4 separate regions of the Homo sapiens genome follow, and all the other regions are linked to region 2. The links are contacts of gene promoters, found by promoter capture Hi-C in human tissues and cell types (Jung and others, 2019). All regions are on one chromosome and are shown on one strand. Each heading gives the region's core, a stretch centred on a gene start or on the middle of the fragment in contact. The rest is flanking DNA. Distances are from core to core; before and after follow the strand shown. Region 1 overlaps LYRM4 (LYR motif containing 4). Region 2 holds the start of NRN1 (neuritin 1). Region 3 overlaps FARS2 (phenylalanyl-tRNA synthetase 2, mitochondrial). Region 4 overlaps FARS2 (phenylalanyl-tRNA synthetase 2, mitochondrial).

Region 1 (6,074 bases), core at 1,931-4,430, 830 kb after region 2:
GAGCAGAATGTCTGTGTGGCCGGGGCTTCCTCACATCGTGGTAGCCTCAGAGCAGTGCGACTTCCTACTTGGTGGGCAGAACTGCAGAGGAGAGTGTTCTGGAGGACAGAGCAGAGCTGTGTGGCCTTTTGTGAAACAGCCTTGGAAATATGTAGTTTCATTTCTGCCATATTTTTTTGGTCAAAGGAGTCACAGGCTCAGATTCAAAGTGTGGGAACATAGACCCCCGATTCTCAATGGCAGGGGTGTCACAAAATGTGTGACCCTGTTTTAAAACCACCACAGGCCCCCTCTCCTTAGTATTCCACTGGCCCTTTATCCTGGAAACCTCAGGAAATGGTTTTTCCTGATTTTCTTCTTTAATTCTCCTCTCCCATCCCTTCCTCAATCCAGTTCAAGGATAAGGGCCTAGAACTCCACCTGTGTCCTATTCCCTCTTGAATCCACAGGTCGAGCAGGAAAGTGAAGGATGAGGCTGGCATGTGTAGAAGTGCCAGTGGAGGGCGCTGTGGCTGACTAGAAGGCCTCTACGTTTTAAAGGACAGCTGTTCCAAACGGAGGTGGGAATGAAGTCCTTGTGTTTCCAGATTTCCCATTTTAATGTGAAATTAGATATTGAAATATTGCTTCATAATGTTTTAAAAGCATACCATGAGATCTGGGTTTATGCTCTTGTCTATGCACTGGCTCTGAGCCCCTCTTTGAAAGACCCAGAACTCATAAAACAAGGCATTATTTAAGATTGCACATTTATGTTTATCCCCAGAAATTTCCACATTGGGGTCTGGAATGCCATTGCTTCTTTAAATACTACTTACTTTAAATCATATTTGCAAAGAATTCTTGTAACTGAGAATCTAGGCGCTCAATAAATAGACCGCATCCTTCCTTCATCTGCACATGAATGGCAGCATTTTGTGCATTAATTACGTGTGTGATGTGTCTAAGCTGAATTGGCTGAGGAGCAGAACTTTAATGATTAGCTGTATAAAACTGAAAGAGAGCTTCAATTTTGACGTTAAGCCTTGCTTATCTTTTATATTCTCAGCCTTTCTCGACGTTTGTTAGAATTTAAACTTGTCCTAAGCATGACAACATCTGTTCAAAAGAGAGGGGGGATAATATATGTTTATATATACACACCTTAATTTAGTATTGGGGACCTTCCAGTTACCAATTATAAGTGTAAAGACTAAATAAAAGTTATAGAAAATTAGACAAAATAAACAGTGACCAAGAGAAGATTTAAGAAATCTGAAGCTAAAGATTTATTTTTCTGCCTGCCCTCCTTGAAGTAACCATTAAGTTTATAAATAGCCTCCTTCCTCTGAGAAGAAAGGTCCTAGTGACACCAAACAGGATGCGACGCGCTGAGTACTCTCCCCTTTCATTTTGAAACTCGAGCTTTTGTGAAGACTATCATTGTGCATCCGTCTGTCTCTCCTCATTACCACTTCTGGTTGGAGCCGGAAGCAGGACAGATGCATATAGTCCTCATTTCAACCACAGGAATTGACTTTAAAGGTGACACTGTCCTTAGTAACACAGCTGATGCCCTGTAGGGGTAAAATTAGTTGTGTTTTCTCTGTGCAGGTGAAATTTTAATGAATTTTTTGATACTCTGTAGAGCATTCACTGCAAAATGCGTTGTAAGCTCTAAACACCAACAGCTGATTGTGAAAGACTCTTTATTTTTTCTTTGCCCTAACTTAAAAAAAAACAGAGAATGTTTCCAGAGAATCTACTAAGGAAAACATCAGGTCTGACAACAAAAGAGAACTGAGAGAGCGAAGAGGAGGCAGCTTTCTGCACTTTGCACACTGGGTTGCAGTTCTCACAGAATCCTGGGGCTCAGGACAAAATGGAAGCTTCCTCCTTGGACCTGCATTTACCCCAGGCCTCGAAACAAAGCCCCCCAGTCTATAGTTTCCAGTGTCACTTCACAGATCTTTTCATACCACAGCAACCCATACTGCCAGGAATCTGCCTGTTGTCTCCAGCACAGCTTCCTATTGAAAGCAACTCTATGTCTAACCTGCCTTAAAGCAGGTTACGGCTATATTTTAAAACCCACCGCATTAATTCAGGACATATCTTTTTATCAAATGGATTTCTCTTCTGCATACATATTTAAACATGAGCCGTACACTCAGAGCAATGGACTGTTTTATGAAAGGTGATTAGCATATAGTACTCAATCAAAGAATTTGTAAATGAAAAAAGTTGAAAATATGAAATATTGATCACTGGGGTACTCATTAACTGTTCAAAAGCATAATTTAGTTGAATTTCAAATGTGTTAATGTAGGATATCATTCATAGAAAAGAAAAGGATTGTAATTTTACACATCATGTTTAACTTTTTAAAGTGTGGCATCTTTAATGCAGGTATTTGTTCTTAGAACTCTTATTGTATGACTGATTCAGACTTCGTGATTCATTAGCCCTACAAATCTCGAGAACATACATGAATGTGCTCATACAGAGGTTAGAAACTTGGGCTAGCTCAAGGGTAGCCTAAGAGAATATTGGAGACAGAAGGTTCTCATTCCTTGAGCAGTGCTCAGAGCATAGCTCCATGTATAGTGAGCATAACAGCGTTGATGTGTCTGATTGGTGTGTTGGTATTAACAAACATGTAATGGCACAGAGGACAGGAAATTTCATTACATCTCTGGCAAATTCATATTGAAAGAAAGAAGGACAGATGGTTGAAAACAGCCATAAAATATTCTATTACATGTCTGCAGAAGTCATTAGCAGTTAAAGAGATGTTATTAATGGATCAGATTCACTTGGGGAGTCATGTTTCTATAATGCACATTAAAGCAATGATACTTCCGGTATTTTTAATGCAGTCAGGGCCAAAGACAAACCTGTCTTTCTGAATAATTAGAAAATGGATTTATTGGCAGTGAAGAAGCTGCTCTTCAGCTTGACTCCAGATCATTTGGGGAGGTTGTTTTTATCATCTAATGTGAAAGAGTAGAATGTAACTGGCTGCTAGCCCTATAGGTCACTGAAATAATGCCATATTGCTTTATTAGTATTTTGGGGGAGAAAGGAAGGAATAAAATTAGTATTTCTGAAAATCATCAAGGAATAATTTTAGTCTCTCAAGTGCCTTAACGTGTCTCTTTAGAATTAATGCAAACATCAGGGTTTTGACTTTGTGAGCATGAGAATGATTTTTGGTGCGTGTTTCTGTCTGTGTGATAAACAAAACAGTGTCTGTGAGATGCTGGGGAGCCCTTTGGACCAGGTGCAGTCATTTGTGTGGTCCTCCCTTTGCAGAGAGGAACTTTCAGCCCCACAGGTCCAGGATGTGAGAACACGAGATGCTCAGTCCCTGGGAGGAGAGCTTTCCTTAGGGCATCTCACATTTCAAAGCAGGGTAGGGTCGGGGCAGCTTAGTGACGCTAGCATCAAAGCAAAAGGAAGGGAGGTGCTCGTGAAACTGTGGTCATCGTTCCTGGACAGTCCAGAGCTTCCTCTCCCTCGAAAGTATTTGGAAATGCACCGACAAATCCTCCCTCCTCAGCTCCTTTTTTTGGGCCTTCTGAGAATTGTTGCCGCTCAGGTGATGCTCTTCCGTGCTGTGCAGCTCGTGTTACAGCGTGCTTTCCCAGCATGTTGGAACACACGGTGTGCAGCAAATCCTCACTTGCCTCCTTTTAGATCAGCTGCCACCCTAGGGTTTCCGGGTAGGCCTGTCGTCAGGTGGTTAGTATGTCTCCAGAGCACCTTTCAGGGATGGTGAAGGGTTCCTGAATGCAGCCTGTGAGGCTTGTGGGTGTTGACTCTTTGCATTCTGTAGCCAGGAGAGCTTTCCCTAAAGGACACGACCCAGAGCTCCACATAAAGACTGCAGTCCTGTCCATGACCCTCTATTGCCATGTGGGTGTCACTGTTATGTTTATGGACTCTCTTCCAATGGAGTGGTGATTTACAGTGTTCTGTCCTAGAAATTGATGAACTCTGAGTAGGTTTTCCCCCATTCATAATTCTTCCCGTATCCCTTCAACCTAAAAATCATGATAAAAAACAATTTAAAGATGCTGTATAAATCTGCCATGTTTGATAAAACAGGGGAAATCTCATCACCTACAATGACAGTGGTGTAAAAGCCCTGCATTTTGTATACTTTTGCTTCATGAGGGTTTTCGCCACAGAAAGAGGTGCTTTGTCAGCACGTTAGACTCTTAAAATGTTTATACGGTTGGTTAACAAGCACCAGCAAAATGGTAACAACTGCTTATCGATTCTTATATCGAGTACGGGAAAAATTTAAACTCCCTGATTTATTTCTGCTTATAAAAATATTTCCTGGCTTTCTTTTAGCCTTCACTGTTTCTCCCCCCACCACTTCCCCTAACACACACACCAGGAATCATTTATTTTTGTTTGATGTTGGTGTGTCTTTCTCAGGCAAGAGGTATAAACTGGAGGCCAGAATAGGTCTTCCAAATGTTAGATGCTGAATGGCTTTAGTGATTCACAGTTGTAAACATAGGAGCTGGAGGGATGGAGGACTCTCCCGAAACAGTGTTTTAGTGTTGTGCCTGACAGGAAAGGAGAGTTAGGGTAGGAGCTGGAGAGGGATGTAACGTAGATGGATGACTAGGGGTTTGGTTGGCATTAGGAGGGGTGGCTTAAGGGAAGTATTGCTTTTTTATTACACAGATAATCTGTGGTTATTGTAATAATATTTGAGGGTAGAAAGAATATTCATAATCTTTTTATCATGAAATATTATTTTCATGTATATCCTTTCAAAATGTTATTCCACAGATAGATAAATATGAATGCATAGTTTTCCTTAAATGGAATCCTACTAATCATTTATAACTTACTTTTATTATTTCCTAATTTCAAATTAACATCTTTCATCAGTAAAAAATATGCCTGCATCATCAGTTTAAAATGGACACATAGGGTACACTCAACGCAGTAACCATCATATGTTGAGCCAACCCCTAATGGTGGACCGTTAGGTCACTTCAGCTTTTGCTTCTTTAAGTGGTGCTATGATGAACACCTTTGTGAATCCTATATCTTTGTTCACTAGGATAGATTATTAGAAGTAGAATTGATAGGTCAAAATGTATACCCAGTATAAAGGGATTTTATACATCCCCAATTGGGGAGAAAAGGGTGTGTGTTTGTTTTTAACATTCTACTGCTGTGTTACTCTTGTGGTATAAGACTGGATGAAACCCTGTTACTCGTGTAGCCCTATTTAAAAGAAAGAAAGTCGCGAGGCTGAGGCACAAGAATCGCTTGAACACGGGAGGCAGAGGTTACAGTGAGCCGAGATCGCGCCACTGCACTCCAGTCTGGGCAACAGAGCGAGACTCCGTCTCAAAAATATTAAATAAATAAATAAATAAATAAATAAAAGAAATAAAGTGAGAAAGCTCTTTTGATACCCAAGAATATTTTGGGTCACAGGCCCTTTGTGAATCTGACTAAGCTTTGGATACTCCCCTTGAAAAATGCATATATATATATATGTGCACATACACACACAATTCCACTAAGGCATGGACCTAATCCATGGATTTCAGTTAAGTCTTTGATTTCTAGCTATTTCCTAATGATTGGTTTTCGTATATAGGTCAGTATGCTAATTCCAGTAGGTTTTCTGGGAAAATAAAATGAAAATGCTTGCTTTCAAACAAACATTTGATGTTGACATTTACCTTGCCCCCTTTCTCAGATCCAAAACCCTTTGGCATCCAAAGATGCCAGGTGGGAATCCCATAACCTCTTCAGCCTTCAACCAACACTGTACACTGTAGCCAAGCTAGGCTTTTCTCCTAAAATTCTGCTTTCACAACCATTACCAAATCCCTGACACTTCAGCTCTGTCAGCCTGCCCAGTTGTTGTCTGCGTGACCCTGGGCTATAGCCGTGTTTGTACCTTGTCCGTAATACCCCTCCACGGCACCTTTGCTGGCCATTTCTTTTTAAACGCTTGTCTCTCTGAAAGCTTTCTCAAGTTATCCTACCGTTGGAGCATTCCCTCCTACACTGGTCATGGGTCCCTCCCTCCAATCCCAATAGAAGGCTCA
Region 2 (6,650 bases), core at 2,437-4,936:
CTGGGGCCTCTACCAATGTATATACCTCCACAAAAATCTCCTTCCTCTCGTAATCTATATGATTGTTTAAATACAGTATAGTTATCATTTTAATGAAAAGTTATGTAATATAAATTCACATTTTTATTAAAGGTTTTAGCTGAAGATATTTAAATGACTGACTAAATTTATGAGAGAGATGTATTGCTAGACCAATCTATTCTAATAGAGCAGCGATTTTTTCTGACCTAGAATACAAAGATGGGATTTCCTAGTGGCCTTGACAACTGCTCTTGCAAATAATTTCAAAGGGTTGTTTGTCGAGGTGGCAGCTTCTGGAAAGCCGACCTATGATGGATTCATAGCAGGAGCTGGGGAATCAACTGGCATACTGCTCATCCAGACTAGGGCTGTAGCGCCATGAAACGAGAAAGGAAGTTGGTGCCCACCAGGCTTAAAATTAGACATAGTCTCTTTCTGGCCGTTCTAGGGATAAGGAATTTTGCATATTTATTACCTTAATTATGCAGACTTACTTTTGGGAGTTACTTTGGCTCAATTCAACATGCAGACCCAAACAGCACCTGTGACTTTTTCCCTCTCCTGAACTGTATTTGTTTCTTTAAACAAAATTGCTTATCAAAAAGAAATACGTTCTTTGCAAGAAGTTGGCTTATAAAAAGCACTCTTGCACGGATTTTATTCTTCGGATTGTGCGTTTCCACTCCTAATCCCATTCACAGAATTCTAGAAAATCCTCAGTTCACAAAATTTCAAAGGTGAAAACAGCTTTGGAAATTACTTCATAGTCCACTCTCCTTCATTTTCCAAAGTGTGGGGGTCAGCCTGTGAGCTGGGTTTCCCTGCCCCTGTTCACTGCTCTTCCCACTGCATCTTCAACCCCAAGTATGATGTGAGATGAGCTTTTCACATTAATAAAAGAGGGAACGTTCTCCAAAGCCACCTCCAACCATGGATGCTACCGTTCCCAGACAGCATGCATTGACAACCATGAAATGCAATATCCTTTAATTAAAGAACTACGAAGAATCAACCCTGCATGGAGCCTGGACTGCAGAACGACCTGTAATTTAAAAGATGAGAATTTTTCAAAAAATAAAATGTCATGTGCATCTATCTACCCAGAAAATCATTTATGTAGAGTACCAACTCTGTTTGCCTCTCTCTTCTTCACTTTTAAAAAGACTCAGGCCTATGAGGGAGGTTGGGACGCCTGGGGAGGAAAATGAAGAGAGGAAAAAGTCAGCGGGGGTTCCCTCCCGGGGTAGGGCGGTGAGGCGCAGCCACGTCCCAAGGGCAAGAACCGGATCGGCCCGGGGCGCGGCGCGGGCGGCTGTGCGCACGCGCGTGGGTTCACCCGCTTCATTGAGGCCCTCAGCCCTGCCTACTCCACATCCCCAGCGCCCCACGCTCAGAGTTACAGGGGAGGGGTTGGAGAGGATCCCAGAAAATGATGCTGTGAAGATCCCAGGTGGATAAGCAGGAGGAAGGCAAGGACGTTGAGGGCAAAAAACCTTAAGCCACTCCCAAGCCTGGGCTCTGCACGAGTCTGAGCGAGGTTGGGGGCCCGCAGCTGGTGGCCTGGTCCGGGAAAGCTGGGCCGGCCCCACGCGGAACCCCGAGCGAGGGGCGGAGCCGTGGGCCGGGCCGCGTGGCAACCCCCCTGAGGCCCCGCCCCTCGGAAAGCCTCCCGCCCTGCCATTGGAAGACGTCGGGGGAGGGTCCGAGAAACGCCCCCCTCTCGCCACCAGCCCCCGCCCCACCCCTTGTCCGCCCACGTTTTCGGTTCTTCCCGGAGCCTCCGAGCTCGGGGAAAGGAAACACCCGGGGCCGCCACCGTGCCCCTGGACACCGGAAGGCGAGCCCCCAACCGCCCCGCCCGCAGGCCGGTGACATAACCAGGGGCGGGGAGACATGACTCCGCCCCCAGGGCCAGGAAGGCTGCATGGGAGTCTGAGGCTCCCGCGGGACGTGAGTTAGGGGCCGCACATTGCAGACACCTCACGTCACCAAGTGCTGCAGTAGGACCCCCGCAGCTTCCCCTCGGCCCCCTACCCTCCACAGCCTGTCCTACCCCCGTTATTTTGCACCTTTCTCCCCCTTTGTCTATGCATCTCCAAATATCTGAGTATGGGGACGGCAAGATTGGCCCTAGAGGGCAAGCTGCCTGTAGAAGCAAATTCAACGCTTCTCCTTAATCCGTGTGCATTTCTACAGTTTGACAGCTTGACGTCCTCTAGTGTAGTTTGGCAAAATTTGGGGGGTCGTTTTCATTTTTTTCTCTCCACAGGCTTAAGGATTAAAGCTGGCCAATGCCTTCTTTAGCATTTTATTAAAGACGCTACAATTTAGACTTTTTTTTTTTCTGTTTGGTGCAGAAGAAAGGAAGAAAACCAGAGCTTAAAGGCGTTTAGAAAGGAAATAGCCCTGTTAGTTTTTCGGTTTTGACTCAAGCTGTCGTCGATAGCAGCTTGCACCTAGCACAAAGCCAGCTGCAGAAGTATTTTGTTGCAGGGTAGGCTACACCTACACAGGGTCTGTGCCTGAGCATCAAAAGACAGTGCAGGTGTGTGTGGGTCCGGGTGTGCGTGTGCGTACGTGATGTACGTGTGTGCGTGTGGGTACGTGTGTGTGTAGCCCAACAAATAAGCCCAAGAGGCGCATCAAGATTAGAAAGAAGTCCGCACACCAGCGCTTGCCTTGGAAATTTCCTAAAGCGCTGAGAGTTGGTTGGTAAATCACTAGTATCCGAAAACTGTCTTATCAGAGGCTCCTTCCCCGGTGCCCTACTCGCCCCCTAAAACAGGTGTCGCTGTGTCCCTTGAAGCGGCCTTTGGCCCGCTGGGGCATCGCAGGTGGGTAAAATTCAGAGGACATTCGGTGTTTATTTCTGGGGCCCCACGTGTGCAAACCAAACCCCCGGGGCCTGGGCGTGTGCGCGCGCTCGCGTGCCTTGTGTGCGGGCGGGCATGGGGGCGCTCGGCGCGGCTGGCGGGCGTGCGCGCGCGCGTTTGTGTGTGTGTGTGTGTGTGTGTGTGTGTGTGCTCGTGCGGGGGGCCGGGCTGCGTGCTCACGCGCTCCAGGCTGCGCCCAGAGCTCAGCTGCTGGGTTGGAGAAAAAGAGGGTAGGCAAGCGCAGGGGGCGGGCGGCCGAGGAGCGCTTTCGAATTAATCGAGCTAGCTTAGCTGTTTTTCCCTCTCCCGCTCCTTTAAACCCCCCTGCATCGTAGAGAGCGGGCTGGATTCTCTGTGGTGCTGATGGAGGAGGGGGAGCAGGTTGAAACAATCGAGTGGGCGCGCCAGGACTCCCCAGCTCCTGGCGGGGAAGGGAGGGGGAGCCCCTGTTCTGCGCAGGGAGGCGGCGGGGCTGGGGGGCCCCCGGAACGAGGAAGAGGCAGGGGTGACCGCTAGAATAGGAAAGTGCTCACCCCCGGGAGGCAAAATTTCGTTCAGATCGCACATTAATTGGAGATATCTGATTAATTCCAGCTTCTGATGACTATAAATGGCGATTCTCTACCAAGGTGTCTATATTAAAAAAAAAATCATTCCGTGTCATCCCCCACGTCAGGCCTGCTCGTGGGCGTGAGGCTGTACTTCCTCCGCCCCCTTCTAATGGAGTGAACCATTCCCAGCTCTCCCCCCCCCCTCAGCCTCTCTCTCTCTCTCTCTTTCTCTCTCTCTCTCTCTTTCTGTCTCTTCCTCGCTCCCTCTCTTTCTCTCCTCCCTCTGCCTTCCCAGTGCATAAAGTCTCTGTCGCTCCCGGAACTTGTTGGCAATGCCTATTTTTTGGCTTTCCCCCGCGTTCTCTAAACTAACTATTTAAAGGTCTGCGGTCGCAAATGGTTTGACTAAACGTAGGATGGGACTTAAGTTGAACGGCAGATATATTTCACTGATCCTCGCGGTGCAAATAGGTAAGTGGCCGCTCAGCCCGGCTGGAGGCTGGAGGCGGGAGGCAGCCTGCCCCGGCCCGAGGCGCGGAGGGGGACTAGCGGGTCCGCGGCCGCCCCAGGGTGCGGAGAAGCCGGCAATCCCCCGAGGGTGGGGGCATCAGTTCCTGGGGACTAGCGCGTCCCAGATCGGTTTTTCCTAAAGCTATAGATTCCAAATGTTCGCCAGGAAATGTGTGCGGCCGGACATTTTCTGGACACGGTTTTTTTCCCCCTTTTTCCTGAGCACACATCCATTTTTGTTTCCCTTTCTGGGTTTATACCAGGTTTGGTGCGCTCTGGGGCAATGTACTGGCCCCTGCGATACTGCAAGATATGATTTTGAAGAGTCGAAATGTGAATGCAGGAATAAAATGGCTAGGCAGCCAGGACTGGAAAGTTTATGTGCTGAAAGCAAAGATATTCCAGGGCTCAGACTGCTGCATTTAGAACTTTGTCATTCTCCCGCCCCTCCTCCCCCCTATATCCTAGCTGCAGCGTTTGCACGGGCACCGCAGACCCGGCTGGTGGGCAAATCGAGAGTGATAGGGAACTTCAGACCACATATTTTAACATGCTTACCATTGAAGAGGATGAATTCAGCCAAATTTACGTAGATATACTTTTCTAGATGCATTTGCCTGCTACTTTACACATTGGTGTCTGCATTTTATATATAGGAAAGGGTTAAGAAGTGTTTGGAATATGTCATGTCGGGTGTTTGTTATTTTTGTTTGTTTGGGATTGGTTATGGAAGGAATTATTTAGTCCCCATTTTATGTTAAGGAATGTTGAGTTGTAGTTACGCTGTCAGGGGTCTTTTTAAAGTTCACATTTTTACCATCCAGAATGAAGAAAAGATATAGAAGAGGGCACTAGAAAACCCCCTTCTCCGACACTGGGTCAGAACATTAATTAACGTGGCCTAAAAGTGAAAGTGAAGCAGGTTATTAATAGAATGGACAACACGGGGGAAAAAAGAAACTCCTGAAACGGAATTGTTACCTCCTATCAGTTCAGGCTGTGGCATTCTTTGCAGACAAATCCTTGCAGTATTGGGGGAGGGGGTGCTTTAGGTAATTGGTTTGGGGCAAGAAAGGAGAATGCATAATATGTTTTTTCCATAAGAAATGTGAAGGAAACAAGGTTTGGAGTTCTCTAGACCTTAAAATGGATTCTTTGCAGTGGGGTTTTATGCAACTGACATGATTTTGAGATTTTATAATGCAGAAACATTATAAAGATTTTAGAGTGTGTGAGTGCAGGATATTGGTGTTTTCCTTTAGTTCCAAAAAATGACAATGCTTTAAATCTGGTTGTTTTGAATCTTTGACATTAGTGAAAAGAGCTGCTGTAAATAATATTTCTAATGGCAGCAAATTCCTTAAATGTTGGAAATAAGTGAATGTGGCATTTTGCAATAAACCTTTGAATTTTTAGAGAGCAGGAGAGAGAGTTGTTTTTGAGATAGAAATTTTAATCGGACAAGATTTGGGACTCTGTTTTCCCGGTAGGAAATAACCTTACTTTGAGAGGTTTGGAGGGAAAAAAAAGACGGTGGTCGTGCCTGAGGGACGCGTTTTGAACACATTAACCTCGGTCCAAAAATGACTATTTGTTGACTGTGGAATTGAAATTGAACGTATTTGTTCCCTAATGTCTGCCCTTTCCTGCAACAGAACCTCGGTCTTTATTAATTCACGGCTGGGAGCTGTCCCAAATCATTGACATTTGGCAAGAAAAGTGGGGGTTGGGAGGGGCGGGGAGGTAGAAGAGTGTGGTGAACACGAAAGAAGACGCAGCAGGAGGAAGTTCGGAATGAATGAGAGGTCGAACGAATGAATGAACGGATGGAAACCGCACAAGAAGGGGACGGCAGAGAGGACAGGGAAGGAGCCAGGGTCACCCGCTAGAGTCTCGCCTAAGCGGGGTTCAGGAAGGACAGCGAGGGACCCACGGGCTGCGACCTGCTGGGACGCGTGCGCCTGCAAAATCCGTCCCGCGCGCAGCCTCCCGGCCTCCCAGAGAAGGCTAGAGTCCAAGGAGTCACAGTTTTAAAAGACAGAAATGTTCACGACTTATTTTACACAGCACACACTCACACATGCGCGGTGTGCAGGGTCTTCTCCAGCAGCGCCTGGGAAGATAACGTGACAAGAGCGCTCCCGCCCCCGGCGAGCCCCAATTCCCCTTAAAAAATGTCAATGCATTTTAGGGGCTTCTTTCGCCACTGAGTTTTGGGGGTGTAGGCAAGGGGTGGGGAGAGACGTGGACGGGGAGATTGGACTTTATTTTATTTCGTTTCTTCTCTGCAAAGCTGTATTTGTGACATGCGTTATAGAGGAAGATGTGTGGAGTGTATTTCCATTTTGAACGAGCTCTATCAGAACAAAGATTCGTTTATTCTTAAGATTTTACGTCAGTGTTCGATTTGTTAGTATTGTAGTCGCAAGGGTATTTAATGTTCGCTGTAAGGTGAACTCGGAGGTTTGAGAAGGTTTACGTATCTGCCCCAGCGGAGGTCGAAGTTAACCTCGGTCCCTTCCCCAGTGCTTCCCGTTCCGGATTAAAAAGCGCAAGGCCCGCCTCGCTCTTCCTGCAGCAATTTGCAAACGGGTACGCTCTCGGAAGCTGCTACGGGTTCGGTCACCTTCCTCTTCGGCGTCTGGCCCGGCGCTCGCGGACAGGCGCCCGCGTTGGGGGCCGGGGGATTGAGGTG
Region 3 (6,503 bases), core at 912-3,411, 730 kb after region 2:
TAATTCTTACAACTCCCCCATTGAGCCTACTTTTTCAGAAAGAAAATAGGGTTTCCAAATGCAATTTTAAATGATTGTGACTAGTAACAGAGCTAAAATGATAGTCATTTCCATGCTTCTAGTGCTATCCAAAAGCAGAAAATAAAAACATTCACTACTAGGGGCTCTTAACTTCAATATATAAAAATAGTGCCAGCAAAGCTTAAGATAATATAAAATTCTGGGAGAATATATCGTAACGCAAGAGATAAAGTATGCAAAATATGTATCACTCTTCTGAAGGAACTGACAGGATGTTTACTCAGATACTATGCTAAGTGACTATGCTACTCCCATTATATTTTCTATTGAGGCAAACAAAATTAAAGTCTAAAAGCCTAAAATCTAAACCTAAATCCTGGCCAGTAGGGAGCAATATAATCCAAACAAATGCAACAGAATCTGTGCTGTGGCTGAACACTTCATGTTACCTAATATTCTTGGTGGTGACAGGGCAGGAGGATGAAAGATGCAGAAATCTAAAAATTTCAGGCTTATATTCCTTCATTTCCTCATTTAACAAAGATTTACTGAGCACTTAGTAGGCACTATGCCTCTAGTGATGAACAAAATAGACATGGTCCCAGCCCTCACAGAATTCACATTCTGGTGGGAGAACTCAACATTAAACCAGGAACCTTCTATTATGTAGATCTACTTTGTACAATTTTAAATTATAAAAAGTTAAGGTAAAGAACAAGATGTCATAAGAAATAATGATAAAATCAGAAGGGTGTAATTTAAACTGAGGTTGGGAACATTCCCTGAAGAAGTAACATTTAAGCTGAGTAGTCATGACTGGAGTGAAGAGTATAAGAAAATATTGATTATTCAAGAGAAGGACCCTCATATACCAATGTCCTTCAGTGCAAAAAAGCTTGGCCTTGTGTACATGTAACAAATGCATCTGTTTAAGAAGAAAAAGAAAGAAAATATCCCAGTGATTCGCAACCAGCAAAAACAAATAACTTAAATTGACAAATATAATAAATTCCAAATAAAGACTTTTGGCAAGGCTGAAGCGGGGAAGTTCTATTTTATTTTTGGCACTATATTGAAATATGTAGGGCCAGGCTCACACCTGTAATCCCAACACTTTGGGAGGCCGAGGCAGGAGGACTGCTTGAAGCCAGAAGTTTAAAACTAGCCTGGGCAACAGAGCAAAACCCCATTTCTACCAAAAACAAATTTGTTTTAATTAGCTGGGTGAGGTGGCATGCACCTGTAGTCCCAGCTACTTGGGAGGCTGATGCAGAAGGATTGCTTGAGCCCGGAAGTTGGAGGCTGCAGTGAGCCATGACTGTGCCACTGCACTCCAGCTGGGGTGACAGAGCAAGACCCTGTCTCAAAAAAAAAAGACATGGTGAGCTGCATAAAACAGAAAGACTAAATAATCGTGGCTGAAAACAGAAAGACATTAGTTGTTAACAAAACACGAAGTCTAGACGCATCCAGTTCCAGGGTTCATTTCATGGCTCAGAAAAGCCAATGTTTAGGCTGGAATCTCATATTCTCTTGGCCTTTCCTTCATGTGTGTCTGCTGAGCTTCAAGCTTTAGTATTACTTGCATTCCAAGCAGGGGAGAAGATGACACAAGTAAGCCCTCTTGTGCAAATACTTATCTTTTAATAGAAAACAAAATCTTTCCTAGAAACCTTCCAGACAACTTCCTGTTGTCTCATTAACCAGATCTGTGTCTTGTGGCTATGCCTGGCTATGACAAACAAGTATCTGGTAAAGAGGGAATGCAATCACTATGAAGCCTAAGACCGCATTACAATTCATTTCCAGGAACTAGGCACATGGCCACCCAAACAAAATCAGGGTTCTAATGGCCGGGAAGAAGTACGGTTGATATGGCTGATGGGTAGCCAACTAATACTATCTGCCAAAGTCACTCAATAATTTTTACAGGTAAGTTACAGTAGCTCCTCTTTGTCTACGGAGGTTCCAAGACCTGCAGTTGATGCCTGAAACTGTGGAGCGTACGAAACCCTAAGTACTGTTTACTATGTTTTTTCCTGTACGTGAATATCTATGATAAAGTTTAATTTATAAATTAGGTAGAGTAAGAGATTTAACAACAATAACTAATAATAAAATAGAGAACCAGATATAAATCAATACATTTACAGTCAATTTATTTTCCACAAAGGTGTTGAGAACATACAATGGGGAAAAAAAACACTCTTCAATAAATGATGCTAAGTTCCTATCTCTCACCATATACAAAAATCAAATAAAAGTAGATTAAAGATTTAAATCTAAGACCTGAAACTATGAAACTACTACAAGAATACATTGGGGAAACAACCCAGGATATTGGTCTGGGCAAAGATTTTTTGTGAAGACCTCAAAAGTACAGGCCACCAAAGCAAAAAGAGAAAAATTAGATTACATCAAGCAAAAACGCTTCTGTAAGCAAAGGAAACAATCAACAAAGTGAAAACACAACCCAGAATCTCCCACAGAATAGGAAAAAGTATTTGCAAACCATCCACCTGGCAAGGGATTAATAACCAGAATATATAATGAGCACAAACAACTCAATAAAAAAAAAACACAATCTGATTAAAAATTGGGCCAAAGATCTCAATAGACATTTCTGAAATGAAGACATACAAATGGCCAGTAGATACATGAAAAATGCTCAACATCACTAATCATCAGAGAAATGCAAATCAAAACCACAATGAGATGTCATCTAACCCCAGTTAAAATGGCTTTTATCAAAAAGGGAATAAAAGATGCCGGCACAGATGTGGAGAAAGGGGAACCCCTGTAAACTGTTGGTGGAAATATAAGTTAGTATAGCCAATATGGAAAACTGTGTGGAGGTTCCTCAAAAAACTAAAAATAGAACTACCATATGTCCAGCAATTCCACTGCTGGGAATATATCCAAAAGAAAAGAAATCAGTATTATCAAAAAGATATGTGCATTGTAATCAGCACTCCCATGTTTATTGCAGCACTATTCACAAAAGCCAAAATATGGAATCAATGTTAAGTGTACATCAAGGGATGAAAGGACAAAGAAAATGTGGCATAAAAAGACAACAGAGCATTATTCAGCTATAGAAAAGAATGAAGTTCTGCCATTTGCAGCAACATGAATGGAACTGGACATTATGTTAAGTGAAATAAGCCAAGCACAGAAAGACAAATACCATATGTTCTTACTCGTATGTCGGAGCTAAAAAAGTGAATCTCATGGAAAGAGAGAATAGACTGGTGGTGACCAGAGGCCAAGAAGGGTACAGGGCAGGAGGGATGCAGAGACATTGACTAGCAAGTAAAAATACAGCTTGATAGAAGAGATAAGACTTAGTGTCTGATGGATCACCGGGAGACTATAGATTATAATAATCTATCGCATATTTCAAAATAGCTAGAAGAAAACAATTTGAATGTTTCTAGCATAAAGACAAATATTTAAGGTGATAGATATCACAATTACACTAATTTGATCTTTATAAATTATATGAATGTATTAAAGTATCACATGTACCCCAAAAATATGTACATCTATTATGTATCAATAAAAATAAATAAATAAAAGAATCTGAGACAAGAAAAATACAAACCATTATAATCATAGTTTTTCTGCCTGTTCTCTGATTGCATTTCCTCCTTGATTTGATAATGCAACTGTTCGTGATATCATTTCCGCATAAGATAGTGGTTATTATTATTTTTTGGAAAGAAAAAAGAAAAACCCATCATTAATTCAACAAGAAAAACTAATAAAAAGTAGAACAATTATAACAATATACCTACCGTAATAAAAGTTATGAAAAAGAGAAAGAATATGGTCTCTTCTCTCTCTCAAAGTACCTCATCCCACTGCACTCACCCTGTTTCTTCTTGTCATCTATCCATAACGAAAATCGTGATCTTGTGGTAACTGAGAAGGCAACGAAGTGACTAATGGGCAGGTAGCGTGTATGCAGCATGGAGACACTGGACAAAGGGAGGATTCATGCCCTGGGCAGGTTTCAACACAAAACTCAGAACACACCCATTTAAAACATGCATTATTTCTGGAATTCTCCATTACATATTTTCAGAACATAGTTGACTCTGGGTAACTAAGAAAGCAAAACCATGGGTAAGGGTGGTGGCGGCAGGGGGTCCTTACTGTATTTGGAGCTTACGTGATTGAGTCATTACACTATTAATATTTATCGATCATTTACTATATGCAAAGCTAGATGTAAAATGTTGAAGAAACAATAGTAATCAAAAACAGACTTGGGAGGCCGAGGTGGGCACATTACAAGGTCAGGAGTTCAAGACCAGCCTGGCCAATATAGTGAAACCCCATCTCTACTAAAAATATAAAAATTAGCCGGGCGTGGTGGCGGGCGACTGTAGTCCCAGCTACTCGGGAGGCTGAGGTAGAAGAATCGCTTGAACCCCGGAGGCGGAGGTTGCAGTGAGCCAAGATCGTGCCACTGCACTCCAGCCTGGGTGACAGAGCGAGACTCCGCCTCAAAAAAAAAAAAAAAAAAAACAGACATAGTCTCTGTTCTTATACACAGCCTAATATCACAAAAAAATTAATCAAATAAAAAAATATAACTCTGGCAAGATTGCTCTAGTGAACTTTGTTCCTTTTACAAAAAATAATTCCCCTTTATCTCTAGGAGCTAGGCAACTGGTTCAAGACCAAAAGAATCCTATCTTCTCCCTGGTCACAGTTATTGGTTCAGAAATGGATGAGGACATGACACAAGGAGGGCCAGTGACATGAACGGAGAGGACTGCTGAGCACTCTTGGTCCAGAAGCTCTCTCACTCCTCTAAGGTTTTGGAAACAAGCGCCCCCAAACTGTTGATGGTTTCCCATAACCGAGAGAGAGGACTCTGGCCAGACGATAAAATTTACGTTAGAGAAGACAAAGTAGAGAAAAGCACAAAATTGAATCTTTGGCAACATCACTCAAACCAATCAACCCTAAAGCCCATCTGGCTTCTGAACCCTCAAGACACAGGAGACAATAAAGCCACTAGGTTTGTTTAAAACAATTTGACTTCAGTTACTTGCAATGGCAGTCACTCTAAGCTGAAGAGCAATTCACCATACTAAGGGAGCTTAACAGAGGAAGATGTACTCAAGTTAGAGAAGGTAGCTTTGAGTAAGCATCTCTTAAACTGAGATCAGAAGAATAATTAGCAAGGGAAGGAAGGGCACTCCAGGCAGCTGGATCAGCATTTGCAAAGGTCCCCAGGGTAGAGGGGAAAGAGGTGAGTACTAAAGAATGAAAAGCAGCAAGCGAAAAATAAAAAGGTATGACATGGGACTGGAGAAGTGGGTAAGCGCCATAGTCGTCAGGGTCTCATAGGCTGTGTTAAGGAATTAGACTTCATCCTAAAAGTGCTGCAGGTTTTTGGAGAGAAGGTGATATAAAAATTACTGTCTATAGTGTGGTGACATTAATTCATATATATCTAAGGAACATACCTGACCACCAGTACTATAATGAACATTTCATTTTCAAATAGCTTTCAAGACAACAGAAAAATTTCAGCAAACACTGTAACTTGACACACGTGGAATCTCTTCTACAAAGTTAACAGAAGGGCATCCAGACAGCTTGACAGCTCTAGCGAACCACACTTATGTCCTGAAACGTATTAATCTGGGATAGTTTACTTGGAAATTATTTGAAGACCTGGGCTCTACAAATGAAAGCTGACTGTAATTATCATCCAGCCCAGCTCTCACAGTACGCAGAAGCCAAGGGTGTAAGTGGGATTCCTAACAGGGCTTAATGTTATGAATGCCCAGGCACATGTGCTTGTCTCAAAGTGCTCCAAGACTTGAAATAAATAACAATGTGCTTATCTCAGAACGTCAAGAAACAGGAAAGAAAGTATGCTGCCTGCTAAGCTTTTTCTATTTCATGACTGCTTCATTTTACTTTCCCTTTGCACTGCAGAATTCCAGGAATTGATTTAAAAAAAGATAATTCTCCCAAAAAACTCATCTTCATTAACTGAAACTAACTGTTTTACTCTCTGCCAATATTACTGTAATCCATTTCACAGAAGCCAGGCTTTTATAACTCTTAAATATTGTTAGTTAACTCAAACTCACAATTACACATACAGATTACAAGTTTGCCAGGCTGAAGTGCTTCAATTGTGCTCAGAAAATAAATGTTTACATTAAAACGTTATAAAATATTAAATCATGTAATTCACTATAATACCAAAGAAATCATGAATTCTCTGTATATCTTCTATTGTTAATAACAGTCTACAGTATACTATCAACGATATGTATCGACCCATCCTCTGAGAGATCAGTTAACATCACAGATCTCAGTATTGCACATCTTAAGACACTGACCTAGTATTTTTCCAGTGATTAGCAAAATGTAGGCTGTTTTTTGTAAACAGACTCAACACTGCAAATTCTAAATGTTTTCTGTAAACAACCTACTGACCTGAACAAACA
Region 4 (6,087 bases), core at 2,742-5,241, 610 kb after region 2:
CATTCTTAGCAAACGTTATAATCATTTTTCTTTCTCTAGCTAAAAGTTTCTGAGTGCCAATCTGCAGCCACAAGTGAAACATTTCGTACCTGAACTCATTAAGATTTTCAGTCAAATCGCAGTCAAAACTTTGTTTCACGCACGAAATTATTTAAAATATTATATCAAATTACCTTCAGACTATGTGCGTAAAGTGTATATGAAATACAAATGAATTTCGTGTTTAGACTTGGCTCCCATCCCCAAGACATCTCATTATGTATATGCAAGAATTTCAGGCCTGGCGCGGTGGCTCATGCCTGTAATCCCAACACTTTGGGAGGCCGAGGTGGGCGGATCACGAGGCCAGGGGTTTGAGAATAGCTTGGCCAACATGGTAAAACCCTGTCTCTACTAAAAATATAAAAATTAGCCAAGTGTGGTGATGGGCGCCTATAATCCCAGCTACTCAGAGGCTGAGGCAGGAGAATTCCTTGAACCCGGGAGGTGGAGGTTGCAGTGAGCCGAGATCGCACCACTATACTCCAGCCTGGGTGACAGAGCAAGACTCCGTCTCGGGGAAAAAAAAAAAGAATTTCAAAATATGAAAAAAAAAAAAAAAACCCAAATCCAAAACACTTCTGTCCCAAGTATTTCAGATAAGAGATCGTCAACCTGTGTTTGAGCACTTACCATCTCCAAAAAGATGTGCCATGAGCCTGGTAAGCGTTTGCTTAAGATCAAACTCTACAAGCTTCACGGCCTCCATGGTGTGTGTCTCTTGTTTATGCGCAGAGCGAGAACTTTGTTCAAAGAGCTGCAGGCTTTCTCCATCCTTTATACCAGCAAATAACTGTAAACCAACAGGAAAGTATAAATAAAGAAAATATCCTGGCCCATCTATATCAGATAACTTTAAAATTCTGCTAAGAATCTTTTGACTCTAAAAAGTTATAATGTGGGAATAAGACTCATTATGTCCTGTCAATAAACGTAATGAAATTAACATTCACTTAGTACAACTCTGAAGAAAACACTACGCTACATGGTATGGGGGGTTTTTAGAGAATTAAGACACTCTTCTGATCTTTGCTAATCTGTTTTTGATTTGCATGAACTTATAGTCAGTTCCCAACAAGAGACATTATCCTCAATTCTAGTGGAAATACTAGTGAATCGCTTTCATATTCTAAAATTACATCCCTGACCATCCCACAGTGTCGAGGAATTAAATCCTGTAAGGTCCATGAAGGTAGGAAGCAAGCTGGAATTTGCTAGTCCTGTATCTCCAAGGCTCAAGGCAGAGCCTCAAACATGTTTCTGCCGCTTACTATCTGTGTAAACTTAGGCAAGTGATACAGTAGCTAAGCCTCAGGGAATCATCTATAAAGTGGGAATAATAATAGTAAATTAGTAGATTTTATTACAAACAAAATAATATATAAAAAATACAGAGTATCTGGCACATTCCAATGGCTAAATAAGTTTTCCTCATTATTGTCTTCATGATTATTAACCACAGCTATCATTAGTCATAAGCTGCTTTACCACTGAAATAAAGTAACTTTCTGGTCAGTGACACAGCAGGTCTTTACTTGGTAGAAGATTGGCTCAAAAGGGATAACTGAGCAAATGAATGTATCATTCTTCCCACCCAAAGTCCCATAATCAAACATAAAAAATGTTTTAATAAAAGAATGAGTCAGCTGCCATTTCTAGTAATGTTGGTTTTGATAATTAGAACCAAACTTCCTGATAAATGCTACTGAAAAAAATACAGAAATTCTTAACAGCATTGAAGAAGTAAAACCGAGATAGAGAGGAGTGACTGAACTCTACAGGAAGCATGAAGCCAGGGGTAAAAAATTAAAAAATAAAAATAAAAAATAAAGTAAGCACAAAGCCAGAGAGAAGCATTGAGAGTATCTGCCTATCTAACCTATCAACTGAAAACCTGAACATGGGTTGTAACAGCTTACCATGGAAGTGAGACAAAAGGGAAAGCTTTGCTGTGGAACCAAGCTGGGGTGTTTGAGTCCCTAAAAGACTCATCCCCCTGATGAGGATGAGCACAAAAGTAAACCAGTCCTTGTGTAGACTTGCAGTCAGGTATCACATTTTCTGAACAATAGAGAGAGCTTCAGGCTACGAAGATGATCTAAGGCAATCCCAGACATACTTCCTCTAACTGGCCAGCAAAATGAGACAAAACCGTTTTCAGAGAAATATTCTAATATCCTAGGCCTCAAATTATTCTTATGAGGACTAAAGACAATGACGGCTGTCAATGCTTCCTCTAAAAATAATTTAGAGCAACAAGAACAAATAAAACTATTGAACACAATGCCTTTGGCAGGCAGGCAGGCAGGCAGGAAGGAATGCCAGTCAAAACCTAGGGACAGAACTGTTATACTCCTACCCCACTGATAAGGCTTTGAAGTAAGCAAGAGCAAGCTGGAAAAAATAAGAGAAAGAGAGGAGAATGAGTGAGGTGCTAAGGTTGACCTTAGAAACCCAGAAAGTGTAAGTTACACTAAGTGTGAAAAGCCTTTAAAAAGTGTCCTAGTAGGCCTGAGCAGGGACCACAGAAAAGTGGTGTAAAAGCATGCCCAATTTGAAGTGAGAGGATCCCAAAACCATAGTTACAATAAAAGAAAAAGGAGTTAATACAAAGCGAAAGACAACCTTTTCAATTGAGTAGGAAGAGAAAAAAGATGCAAATGAGAAAATTCAAGGTTGTGAAAGATAAAGCACAGCTAAAAAATTAGAGGATTTACAAAACCATTCTCTAACCCACACCAAAAATAAATAAATAAACCACTAAAGTGTGCATTGCTACACTAACAGAAGAGGGCACCAGAGACTAAGGAAGTCTTTTACACAACCAAAAAGGAACGACAAATAAATTCAATAAAAATATAGAAAATTATTACTCAAAAATCAGAAAGTCAATTCAAAAGAGCTCAACTAATGAAAATCCAACTTTTCTCCCACCCACCCCCCAAAACTAAGGAGCACTAAAAAGAAACACAAACTAATACTTAAAAACTAAGTTACATATGCTCAATCAAGCATTTAAGGATATAAATTGCTTTAGTCAGAAACTCAAAAATTAAGAACAAAAATAGAGAAAAAATGAAAAGAGAATTGATTTAACTCAGAAAAAAAAAAGAAATAAAATCATCTCAGAAACAAAATCTAAATTCCAAAGCATGCAAGGGACAATGGAATCAATCAAGATTTAATGAGGGGGCATTGAAGAAAAGGAGAAAAACAACCAGAAGGAGGATGGTAAAATAAAGAAAGAAGAATCAGAAAGAAAGTGGTAGAAATGGAACACAGGCAAAGAAGGAATTACATTTATATAATTGGAGTCCGTTAAAGAGGGAAAAAAAAACAATGGAGCAGAACTAATACCAGATAAAATGGGTACCTGTGAAAAAGAACCTGGAAAAATCAAATATAGGACATATTCTTATAAAACAGATTTCATAAATAATGGGGAAAATCGTCAAGGCCTCTAGGCAAAAAGATCAACTAATGTAGAGGAGTAAAGCAATCAGAGTGGCATCAGATTCTTCAAAAACAACACGGAAACAAGACAACAATGAAGCCACATTTTCAAACAACTCAGTTTTTAAAAATGTGGGTCAAGAAGTTTATATCCATCAATGCTGTCCTTAAAGCACCAAGTCTACAGAAAAAACGTGAAACACACAAGAGCATAGGAATGTCACATTAATGAGCTCTTTCTGAAGAATTTACCAAAGCATGAGCCTTGTTCAAGTAATAAATAACTAGGAAAATTTCAGCACAAAACAAATGGAGAACATGTTAATACATAAAAATTACAGATTTCAGACTAAAAGCTGGGGATTACATTGAAAGACTAATATCCAATTGTTATATGTTCTGACAAAGTAGAAATAACGTAACTAAACAATGGAAGAAAGCAGCAAAGAGGAAAGTAGAATATACTGATTATTGCATAGGCAATAGTTAAAGAATACTTTTACTAAGAACAAAGTTAAAAATGAGGGATAAGGGACTTTAAAAGTTTTAAGTATAAAAGCAACCATTAAAACAAAAATATAACCTTTCTAAAGAGCAACCAAAATTTCAATTCAAAAGCATAATAAAACATATATTGTAGAGAAATAAAATGTAACATGTTATGACATATATAACACCACAATATATTATGATAAAGTTCAGATCGAATATATCAATAACTCAATAAATGTGAAAGTAATATCAATAAATATGAACAGGCTTAATTCACCTCTTAAAAAAATAAATCTGGCCACAAAGCATGACTCAACTATACAAAAGATACACCTAAAACAATGTTAAAAACAAATGGATGGACAGAATATAACAGGCAAATGGATACAATAAAAAAGCAAGCATAGCATTCTTAAAATCAGAAAAAGTAGAATTCAAGCAAAAAAACACCGAGCAAGACAAAGAAGATCTTGTATTAATGCTAAAAGTTTCAAATCACAGTGAAGGTATAACACTTATGAATATCTATATATCAATAAGACAATTATTACCTCTGTGTAGAAAGAACCATAGGGGACGCAAAAGACACACATAGAAACACATTAATATTAATGATAATAGGAAACTTTAATACATCATTCTTAGTATAAGATCAAATGTGCAAAATTAATAAGATAAAAGACCTAAAAACATAATTAGGAAATGAAATCATGTGTGTATACATAAATATGTATACGTATATTTTACACACACACACACACATACACACATATTAAACTTACTCCCTTCATAATGAAAAATACATTTTATTTTCAAGGGCCCAGAGAATATTAACAAAAATTGATCACATAGTAAGTCACAAAGAAATAAGTATATTCCATAAAGAAGAAATAATAAACTATACTCTCTGATTAAAATACAATAAAACTAAAAATCATTCCCATTAACAACATACAAACACACACACACATAAAGGTCTTTCCACCTGAAAACTGACAAAAAAAGAAGGGGAACAAAAGTCAGGAAACATACACCACAAAGAGGTAATACCACTAACGTAAAGAAACTTTTAAAAGTTGACAAAGGGCCAAAAACTCCATAGAAAAAGAACAGACAATTCATCAAAAAAAAGATATGAAAATGACCCCTGAACACATGAAAAGGAATTCAAACTTAAAGAGCAAATTAAGCAAATTAAAATAACACTGACATAATACTTCTATCACAATGGCAAAAAGTTAAAAGTCAGACAACATATTCTTTTGAATACGCTGAGGCTTTGGAAAATAAGTACAGTCATACTTTGCTGGTGAAAATGGAAACTGGTAGAACCCTTTTGGAGATGAATTTGACAACACCCAACAAAACTACATATTTGTTGATCTCTTGACCCAGTCCTTCCATTTCTAACTACTTACCCTGAAAATATACTTCCAACATTAATACACATGCACAAAATTTTCATTGTAGTATTGTTTGTAACTGCACCATATTTTTTTAAAAAGTCTCACATTGGAAAGATGTTAAATAAACTATGGTCTACCTATACAATAGAGTACTTTTGCAGGTGTAATAAAGAACGAGGAAGATCTCTCTGGACTGATATGGAATGATTTTCAAGACATCCTGATAAATAAAAAAGGCAAAGTGCAAGAGGGCATATATTACTTGCTACCTTTCATGTAAGAAATAATAAAATACACATGAATCATCTCATTTGTGAAAAAAAGGAAGGATAGGCTAGAAATAACAAAAATAAATCACCTACACAGAGGTGGTGGAAACAGGATGGAAAAAATGGTTGAATGGGAATAGAGTATAATGAATGGCAGAGTGGGGGTCATGACCTCTAAGTAAACCTTGTTGTATAGTTCTGAGTTTTAGAAGGACGTTAATACTTTATCTACGCAAAACATTAAAAATAAAATCCTGACACCTGCAATCCCAGCACTTTGGGAGGCCAAGGCAGGAGGATCACTTGAGGTCAGGAGTTCAAGACCAGCCTGGCCAACATGGTGAAACACCATCTCTACCAAAAAATACAAAAATTAGCCAGGCGTGGTGGCACACGTCTGTGATCCCAGCTACTTGGGAGGCTGAGAC

What was found. Contacts are between HindIII fragments. The study calls those that stand out against the background at their distance.
Region 1: a contact is called between a fragment that was not itself captured here and the fragment with the promoter of NRN1 in region 2, in 1 of the 25 tissues and cell types used here (IMR-90 fibroblasts).
Region 3: a fragment that was not itself captured here is called in contact with the fragment with the promoter of NRN1 in region 2 in 1 of the 25 tissues and cell types used here (dorsolateral prefrontal cortex).
Region 4: a fragment that was not itself captured here is called in contact with the fragment with the promoter of NRN1 in region 2 in 1 of the 25 tissues and cell types used here (lymphoblastoid cells).

The regions. Positions count from the first base shown.
Region 1 is chr6:5,169,808-5,175,881 of GRCh38, reverse strand. The region is part of intron 2 of LYRM4 (LYR motif containing 4); the gene reads left to right. The region is part of intron 3 of LYRM4-AS1 (LYRM4 antisense RNA 1); the gene reads right to left. Among named protein-coding and RNA genes, the nearest start is that of MIR3691, 25 kb to the right of the region's middle. The HindIII fragment of the contact is 5,106 bases long and covers 628-5,733 here.
Region 2 is chr6:6,003,961-6,010,610 of GRCh38, reverse strand. It overlaps NRN1 (neuritin 1), which reads left to right and starts at 3,686. Exons shown (of 3, transcript NM_016588.3): 1 at 3,686-3,916. The coding sequence starts at 3,862. RefSeq lists a silencer at 1,636-1,755 and an enhancer at 6,222-6,650. The HindIII fragment of the contact is 19,231 bases long and covers 1-6,650 here.
Region 3 is chr6:5,269,612-5,276,114 of GRCh38, reverse strand. All of the region lies in intron 1 of FARS2 (phenylalanyl-tRNA synthetase 2, mitochondrial), which reads right to left. Among named protein-coding and RNA genes, the nearest start is that of FARS2, 11 kb to the right of the region's middle. The HindIII fragment of the contact is 3,203 bases long and covers 560-3,762 here.
Region 4 is chr6:5,399,287-5,405,373 of GRCh38, reverse strand. It overlaps FARS2 (phenylalanyl-tRNA synthetase 2, mitochondrial), which reads right to left. Exons shown (of 7, transcript NM_006567.5): 3 at 673-832. Among named protein-coding and RNA genes, the nearest start is that of FARS2-AS1, 56 kb to the left of the region's middle. The HindIII fragment of the contact is 5,265 bases long and covers 1,359-6,087 here.